Linked DNA regions of Homo sapiens: region 1 is linked to region 2. Evidence: promoter capture Hi-C in 16 types of primary human blood cells and fetal thymus (Javierre and others, 2016). All regions are on one chromosome and are shown on one strand. The core of a region is centred on a gene start or on the middle of the fragment in contact, and the rest is flanking DNA. Distances in the headings are between cores, read along the strand shown. Region 1 overlaps DPYSL3 (dihydropyrimidinase like 3). Region 2 holds the start of DPYSL3 (dihydropyrimidinase like 3).

Region 1 (3,961 bases), core at 1,412-3,911, 52 kb before region 2:
AGACGTGCTTGCGATAAAGAAACTATATAAGGCATCCACAGAAAGAGAATACAGAATACTCCGGCTTGGGCTTTCCATAAACCCGAAACGAACCAGACTGGTCACATAATCCAAGGACACACAAAGCCCCCCTTAAACACTCCCTCTCAAGTGAGTTAATCCAAGCTTCTGGTTATTTATGGTTAATTGGACTGAATGCAGTCTTCGCAAGAAAAGTCCACAGCAGTCTCCACTTTATTTCTGTGATACTCTGCAAAGGAGGATGAATGCCAAGCAAAGATCACCTCCCTATACTCTTGCAAAACACAAGGGGGAATAAAAAGACTGGGCCAAAGGCACGCCCTAAACATTTTGCTTTGTTCTTAAAGCGTAAGTGCTGAGACCACTAGCCAAGAGTTGTGAAATTACAAAGCATTCTGGGGATTGGCATGCAAATGAGCAGGATTATATTTAGAACAGAGTAAAAGGAGAATTAACTACATACTATGGAAACCAGCAGAGCTCTCTCTCTCTGCATCTTTCCTGTAGATTTTACTGCCCCAAACTTGCTGGAAAGGATCTTGCACATTTTTCTCAAGAAAAGCAAAAATATGTAGGGGACATTTACAATCCTAAAAAAAAAATACCGCTGCTGCTGCCTTTTTTTTTAATTTTACAAGTTTCTTTGCCTTTCTTACATCTGAGTTATCTCCTCTGTTACCATCATTATAATCCAGAACACTCTTTACTAAATAGATTTATACCATATTTTTGATCACTTGATTGTGTGTGTGTGTGTGTGTGTGTGTTGTTTCAAATAACAAGACTTGGTTAAGCTTTTTTGAGGTCAGGTTTGCATGCAAGAGGCCATGCTGAATGGCAATTGCAATGTGTTCTTCTGGATCCGGCTGCTGTGACCAGCCAGACACAGAAACACAGCAAATTGATTCAAGCTGTTGCCATCATCAGAAATGTACAACAAACACTATTTTCCTTGTTTCATCCCCTTCAATTATCTTTCACTTTCTTGAACCAAAATAAAGCCTCTAAGATGAATTTGAAGGAAAAAGCCTTCCTTGGCCATAAGAAAGGCAGCCATCAACACAGGATGCCTCTGTGTCTGGCCAAGAGAGAGAAGAATGGAACCAGTATGGATGTTTTCCACAGTAGAATGACTCTGAATGGTTTTCCTTGGATACACAGCAGTGCTTGGCTTTAGGTATCTCAGTAAACTGAAAGAGGGAGAGGAAGATGTAGAAATAGACTTGATTTACAGTCCCAAAGAAACTTAATTTTGGCTACCACACCTGCCACACCACAGATTTCCACACTTAAATCAATGGGTACTCCATTCCAGTTGCTCAGGCGAAAGGTTTGGCACCATCCTTGATTTCTCTCCTTCAATCATGCCCCTACTCTCCACAGACAATCTTTCAGCAAATGCTACTGATTCTATTTTTTTTTTTTTTTTTTTTTTTTTTGAGACAGAGTCTCGCTCTTGTTGCCCAGGCTGGAGTGCAGTGGGGTGATCTCGGCTCACAGCAACCTCCGCCTCCCAGGTTTAAGCAATTCTCCCGCCTCATCCTCCTGAGTAGCTGGCATTACAGGTGTCTGCCACCACACCTGGCTAATTTTTGTACTTTTAGTAGAGAGGGGGTTTCACCATGTTGGCCATGCTGGTCTCGAACTCCTGACCTCATGTGATCTGCTTGCCTCAGCCTCCCAAAGTGCTGGGATTACAGGCATGAACCACCGCACCCAGCCAGTTCTATCTTTTAAATGTATCCAGACTATGGTCTCCTCTCATGATTTGCAAAGTTTCTTCCTGTGTTTAGCCATCATTTGGCTATCACCTGAATTATTGTAACCTCCTAACTGGGTTCTCTTCCTCACCATCACTCATTCATTCATTCATTCATTCATTCATTCTCAAAATATTCACACAATATTTACCTTGTGCTTACTATGTGCCATTATTTTTATCAGTGTTAGTGCAATGGAGGTGAATAATAAGTCCCAAATATCATGGAGTTTACTTCGTATTCTTCTTATTATATAATAATAACGCATATCCTTATTACACCACCTGTCACTTGCTAGCCCCCTTTCCTGCTTTATCTTCATAATACTTTTTACCACATGACATATTAATTTATTATTGAATATTCTCCCCATCACCAGAATATAAGCTATTTGAGGGTATGTGATGTGTCTGTTTATTTACTGAATGCCTGAAATAGAGCCTTGTCCATAGAAATTGCTCAATAATTATTAGGGGAGTGAATGTAAGAATTTTTTAAAATTGCATCTGGAGAAAGATTAAATAGGTGAAGAAGAACTTTTCTGGAACTAAAGGGCATGTAGTTAGAATGTAGATTTTACAGTATCTATATTTGCTTCTCTATGCATTTTTAGAGTTTCCTGATTCTAGATTTCAGAGCAGATGAATTAAGATGGCGAAGAATCACTTTGCTAATATGATACAGTCCAAAAATTTCAGAGCAACATATGGGCCAAAGAAAGGCTCAGTAGAGTAGAATTGGTACCTGGGCACTGATTAGTTTTATGCCAATGAGGCTGATTCAGTCAGGAGAGGAAACTTTATGAGGCAGGAGAGAAGTAGGTCAATGGCTCTATGAAAGTTCCAGAATAGGCAACTCAGGTGACATTTATTGTTTGAGTGGAGGGCTTGCCCTTAGCTAGAAACAAGACTGGTTCCTCCACAGTCACTGAAGAGGAGAATATCTTTGCACAGAGTCCAGTAGCTGGGTATATTTCCGGGAAGGACTTCATGGAATTTGTCTTCTGACTCCATCTATTTTTTCTGCCATCAGCTAAGACCATCTAGGAAAGAAGGTATTGGGAGAGGGAGGAGGAGTTCATATGAAAATCATTTTCCAGGACAGTAAAGGAACTAGGAAAATATGGTATGATTATCTGGCAGTGTCAGAGGCGTGTTAACCAGAGCAACTCCATCTTGAATAGGAGCTGTGTAAAATGAGGCCGAGACCTGAGACCTACTGGGCTGCATTCCCAGATGGTTAAGGCATTCTAAGTCACAGGATGAGAGAGGAGGTCGGCACAAGATACAGGTCATAAAGACCTTCCTGATAAAACAGGTTGCACTAAAGAAGCTGGCTAAATCCCACCAAAACCAAGATGGCGACAAGAGTGACCTTTGGTCGTCCTCACTGCTACACTCCCACCAGCGCCATGACAGTTTACAAATACCATGGCAACGTCGGAAGTTACCCTAGATGGTCTAAAAAGGGGAGGCATGAATAATCCACCCCTTGTTTAGCATATCATCAAGAAAGAATCATAAAAACAGGCAACCAGCAGATCCTCGGGGCTGCTCTGTTTATGGAGCAGCCATTCTTTTGTTCCTTTACTTTCTTAATACACTTGCTTTCATTACTCTATGGACTCACCCTGAATTCTTTCTTGCACAAGATCCAAGAACCCTCTCTTAGGGTCTGGATCGAGACCCCTTTCCGGTAATAGCAGCAGTAAAGATTCCCTTCAAACGGTGACCATAAATTTAAAGAGAGACCAGTAAGCCTGGTTGTGGATGTTCCTCCAGCCACTTACAGTAGCATATGTGCAGGCAAGGAGCAGGTAGGGTGTGGAATTGAATGTGGGCTCTTTAAGATGAGTGCTGAGAAGGGAGAGAAAAACTCAAGGGAACTGAGGATGAAGCAAGGGATCTAAGCTCCTTAAGAGAGCAGGGAGAACACAGTGTATAGGGGAATAAAGGACAGTGAACATACTGAAGATTAAATAAGATTATTCTCATAAAGCTCTTAAGTCAAGTTAATTAAATGGCAGCTACTCCTAACACTATTTTTAATATTTTGATTTTTTTTTTTTTTTTGCTAAACTTATTTATGCCAGGAACTATGTCTTATTTATCTTTATAGCCCCCAGCTCTTTTACAGTGCTTGGAGTGGAGTCGCATCAATGGGAAAAGGGGGAGATTGAC
Region 2 (3,826 bases), core at 725-3,224:
CGTTGGTAAGCAAGGGCTTAGGGGAATCACGCACTAAAAGGATGATGTGAAAATCACAAACTAAATGAATGATTTCAGAGGAAGCCGACATTGTTTTCCAAGTGGTACCCTTGAACAGCACTAACTTCAGCACTTATTTTCCCTGGTGGTCTTAGTAGTCAAAGGTTGGTTGGTTGGTTTGTCTAAACTTTCAAAAATCAAACAGTGAACAGAGATGCTGTTCTTTCACTAGCTCATTGCATTTTAATGGAAAAACAACTAAAACCTGAATAAGCATTAACTGTAATTGCTCTGAGGCAGACATTTCCATTTCAGGTTGTTATTCCTAACCATATTAGTGCAGAATAATACATGCGGATGGATTTTGCGGCCATTACCTAGACAAGGGTGAGGGCATCTGATTATTATTATTCCCCAACTGAAAGCTTCAGTTTGAACTCTGAAGTCTCCAGCCCTGCCAGGCCCTGCATTTTCTGAACTACATCTCTGAGTCTCTGTGAAATAGACACATAAATCAGGGCAAGCTAGATTTCAATGCCATCCCTTCAGTCAGTTCAGTGTGACATAAGTTTCTCAAAAATACACATACAGAAGAAATTGGCTTTGGCACATTTAAGAGCAGCAGGGAATTTGCATCTCATGCTAGTTTAATGTGCACTCTTAATACTCTCGTCTATTTTCTAAAATATAATGCTATTCTTGCAGAGGCAGCTGGACCCCTGTAATACCCAGTCTTGTGCCAAGCTATGTACACAAATACACTCTTTACAAACACAGATGTGAAATGCCGTGCTAAGACACAAGCGAGGCATAGAGAGAGATTCGCGTGTTTAGTCTAGAGGCTCCACACCCAAAAGTTTCAGGGACAGAGCTGATGTTTGAAGACTGAGAGGGGAGACCGCCCCTCCAGTACTTTCATCCGGGCACTATGGAGATGACCCCCATATTCCCAGCATCACTTTGCCCTCTGCCGTGGTGACCCGGGTTGAGATTTAATCTAGGGCCAGAGGGGGGCAAGACAATTGTGCTGTTGGCTACTAGAGAGAAGAGCTGGAAATCACTAAGCCTTCCCGGGCTGACACACCCACCCAGACCGGATGGCCCAGGAGTGCGGCGAGGAGGCAGGGGCAAAGGACGCGGCTCCAGGCAGGGGAACCCGGGCATCCCTTCCGCGCTTGCACGAAGATGCTGCAAGTGGCGACACGCGCGAATCCAGGGTCTGGGCTAGGAAGTCGCGCTACGCTCAGTGGAGGATGACCCTTTCCTCCTCCTTGTCCCCCAGCCCCGTGCAAAGTGAGCTGGAGAAAGTTGTGCCCGGGCCATGGCGGCCAGGGCTGGAGAAAGGAACGAAGGCAAGGAGGGAAGTGACCCGGGGCCCCCTTACCTTGTCCTTGGGGCCGAGGTTCTGCAACACCTCTTTGCCGGTGGCGCTCCGGATCTCTACCCCGGCGGGGGCGGGGGAGGCGGGCGCGGGCTCCCTGCTCTCTTCCCGGCCTTGGCCCCTGCGCGGGGTGTCCCCCTCGATCCCGGGCCGACTCCCCGATCCTCGGTCGCTGCCCTGGCCGCTCCGAGGAGTCTTCGCGCCCCGCTGCCCCACGCTGAGGGCATCGAAATCCAGCGTCTTGCTCTCGAAGGCGCCCTCCACGTTGCAGAACATGCCGCCGTATTTCTGCCGCGGGACCTGGTCCGTGGTGCCCGGCCTGGCCAGGTACACGGGCAGATCGTCTTCGTGGGAGCTGTCCCAGCCCCTCCGGCCCGAGGCCATGGTTCAAGCACGAAAGCGGCCCGCGGGTTTTTCTTCCCCAGAGGCGGAAAGGGCAGCCGCCGGCAGCGTGCGCCGAGCCACAGTGACTGTGGCGGGAGGAGGCGCCTGAGCCTTCGCGCCAGAGGCGGCAGTGCTGCTCCGATTCCTGCTTGTCCCTAGCGAGCCAGCGAGCCACACAGCCAGCTAGCGCGCGGAGCAGGGGCCCAGAGTAGCGCCGCGCTTGGCTCACTCGCTGGACCTCTCGCCCGGCCGCACCTCCTCACGCACCCCCAACCCTAACGTGGCCTCCCGGGCTGACGCAGCGTCGGTGCCCATCACAATCACAAACCAAACTTGGCGCGCGCGCACACGCACACACAGGCGCACACTGCCCGCTCGCGCAACAGCCTTGCCTCACACACTTTCGCGCAATTTAGACGTCTTAGAAATGTTCACACTCCAGCACTTGACTGCTTCACCCACACTAACTCCCTAGTTTGCCTCACAAACACAAAGCTTTCTGACGTCCCTCGTGCACAAAAACCCAGCTGACCCAGGTGGATTCATCTCAAAGCCAAGTCCTGATTTACAACTAACACATACAAACTCAAATTTACGACAGACTCACAATCCTACCCGGAACCCCGGACTTGCCTCATCCTGATCTTTAGGATGACACTCATAACTACACCCAGTTCTAGAATCTGCCTTGCAAACCCACACTCTCACATGAAGTCCTGAATTGGCTTACACACACAACACAAACACACACTGAGAGAGAAGCCCTCTTACTTCATTGAGAGTCACAAAAGCCCTTTGGCTCACATAAGCCCTTTCTTAGCTTCTATATAATATCCTAGTTTGCTTTTTACCACCCCTAATTTGCCTCATTTCAGATCACACACACACACACACACACACACACACATTCTTAGGTTTTGCCTTGCAAAGCACTCTTCATTGATGCTCTGTCCCTCATACAACAAACCCCAGATTTTAATCTCACACACTGACACAAGTCCAGGTTTACCTCAGTCGGAACCGACACTTAGATTCACACCTAAGCCCAGATTTACTTCAAAAATCACACAACCAAAGACTTTGCTTTTCATGTTACCTCAGATGTATGCAGACTTTACTTATGTACATCTGTGCTTTCATAACCTCATTCTCTTCCCCACGTCCACCCACGTATACTCTGACGCCGACTCTGCCACATAAACAGAACCTGCAAACTACATACCTTACATCATATCTGCACACACCACCTAAACCCAAAACCTGTTGTGCCGGATTTAACTGTGCTCCCTCTCAGAAAGTCACCCATTTATTTATTTAGTCAACCAACATAAATCAGGTACCCACTATGGCTTTCACAAGATGCTGGAGCAACAGTGTCGAACAAGAGAGATCGGCCTGTCCTCACCAAGAATGTAGTCTATTACCACCCATCTAGGTAGCACAGCCGTTCACTGTTCTGCTCAACTTACAGAACTTTGTTTATTTTGTGAACTAAACACTCCCCCTCCCAAGTATGGACACATACATGCTAAGCTCCATAAAGGCAGAGATCTGGTCTGTTCAGTTCACCTTTGTATATCTTGTGCCCAGAACATCTACAGGCACTTGATACATTCTTTTTGAACAAATGGAGGATAACAATAACAACGACAGCAGCACCAGAAAATGTTTATGGAGTTATTGCTATGTGCCAGTCATTATTATAATTGTTTCACATATATTAACTCATTTAATGCTCATAAGCATATGGCCGGCTTCTTTGTGCGCATAGACATACTCTTTGAAGGCATCCACATAGAATTTGATGAAATTAACCTTTGAACTCTGATTTTGGAGTGGAACAAAGGCTCCGGAAACTGGAATGTCAGTCTCAGGTCTGTGACAGCCACAAAATATTGAGGAATGGAAGTTGGCCTGAACTTAGATCAAAGACAGGTATGTTGACACAATTTAAACCTATCCCCTGGCCAGGCGCAGTGGCTCACACCTGTAATCCCAACACTTTGGGAGGCTGAAGCAGGTAGATCACCTCAGGTCAGGAGTTCAAGATCAGCCTGGCCA

The links. The method cuts DNA at HindIII sites, captures the fragments that hold promoters and counts their contacts. A CHiCAGO score of 5 or more calls a contact.
Region 1: a contact is called between a fragment that was not itself captured here and the fragment with the promoter of DPYSL3 in region 2, in 1 of 17 cell types (endothelial precursors). The highest score is 5.7, in endothelial precursors.

What each region holds. Positions count from the first base shown.
Region 1 is chr5:147,455,148-147,459,108 of GRCh38, forward strand. All of the region lies in intron 1 of DPYSL3 (dihydropyrimidinase like 3), which reads right to left. Among named protein-coding and RNA genes, the nearest start is that of DPYSL3, 53 kb to the right of the region's middle. RefSeq lists an enhancer at 800-1,301. The HindIII fragment of the contact is 3,697 bases long and covers 814-3,961 here.
Region 2 is chr5:147,508,094-147,511,919 of GRCh38, forward strand. It overlaps DPYSL3 (dihydropyrimidinase like 3), which reads right to left and starts at 1,975. Exons shown (of 14, transcript NM_001197294.2): 1 at 1,385-1,975. The coding sequence starts at 1,765. The HindIII fragment of the contact is 1,835 bases long and covers 424-2,258 here.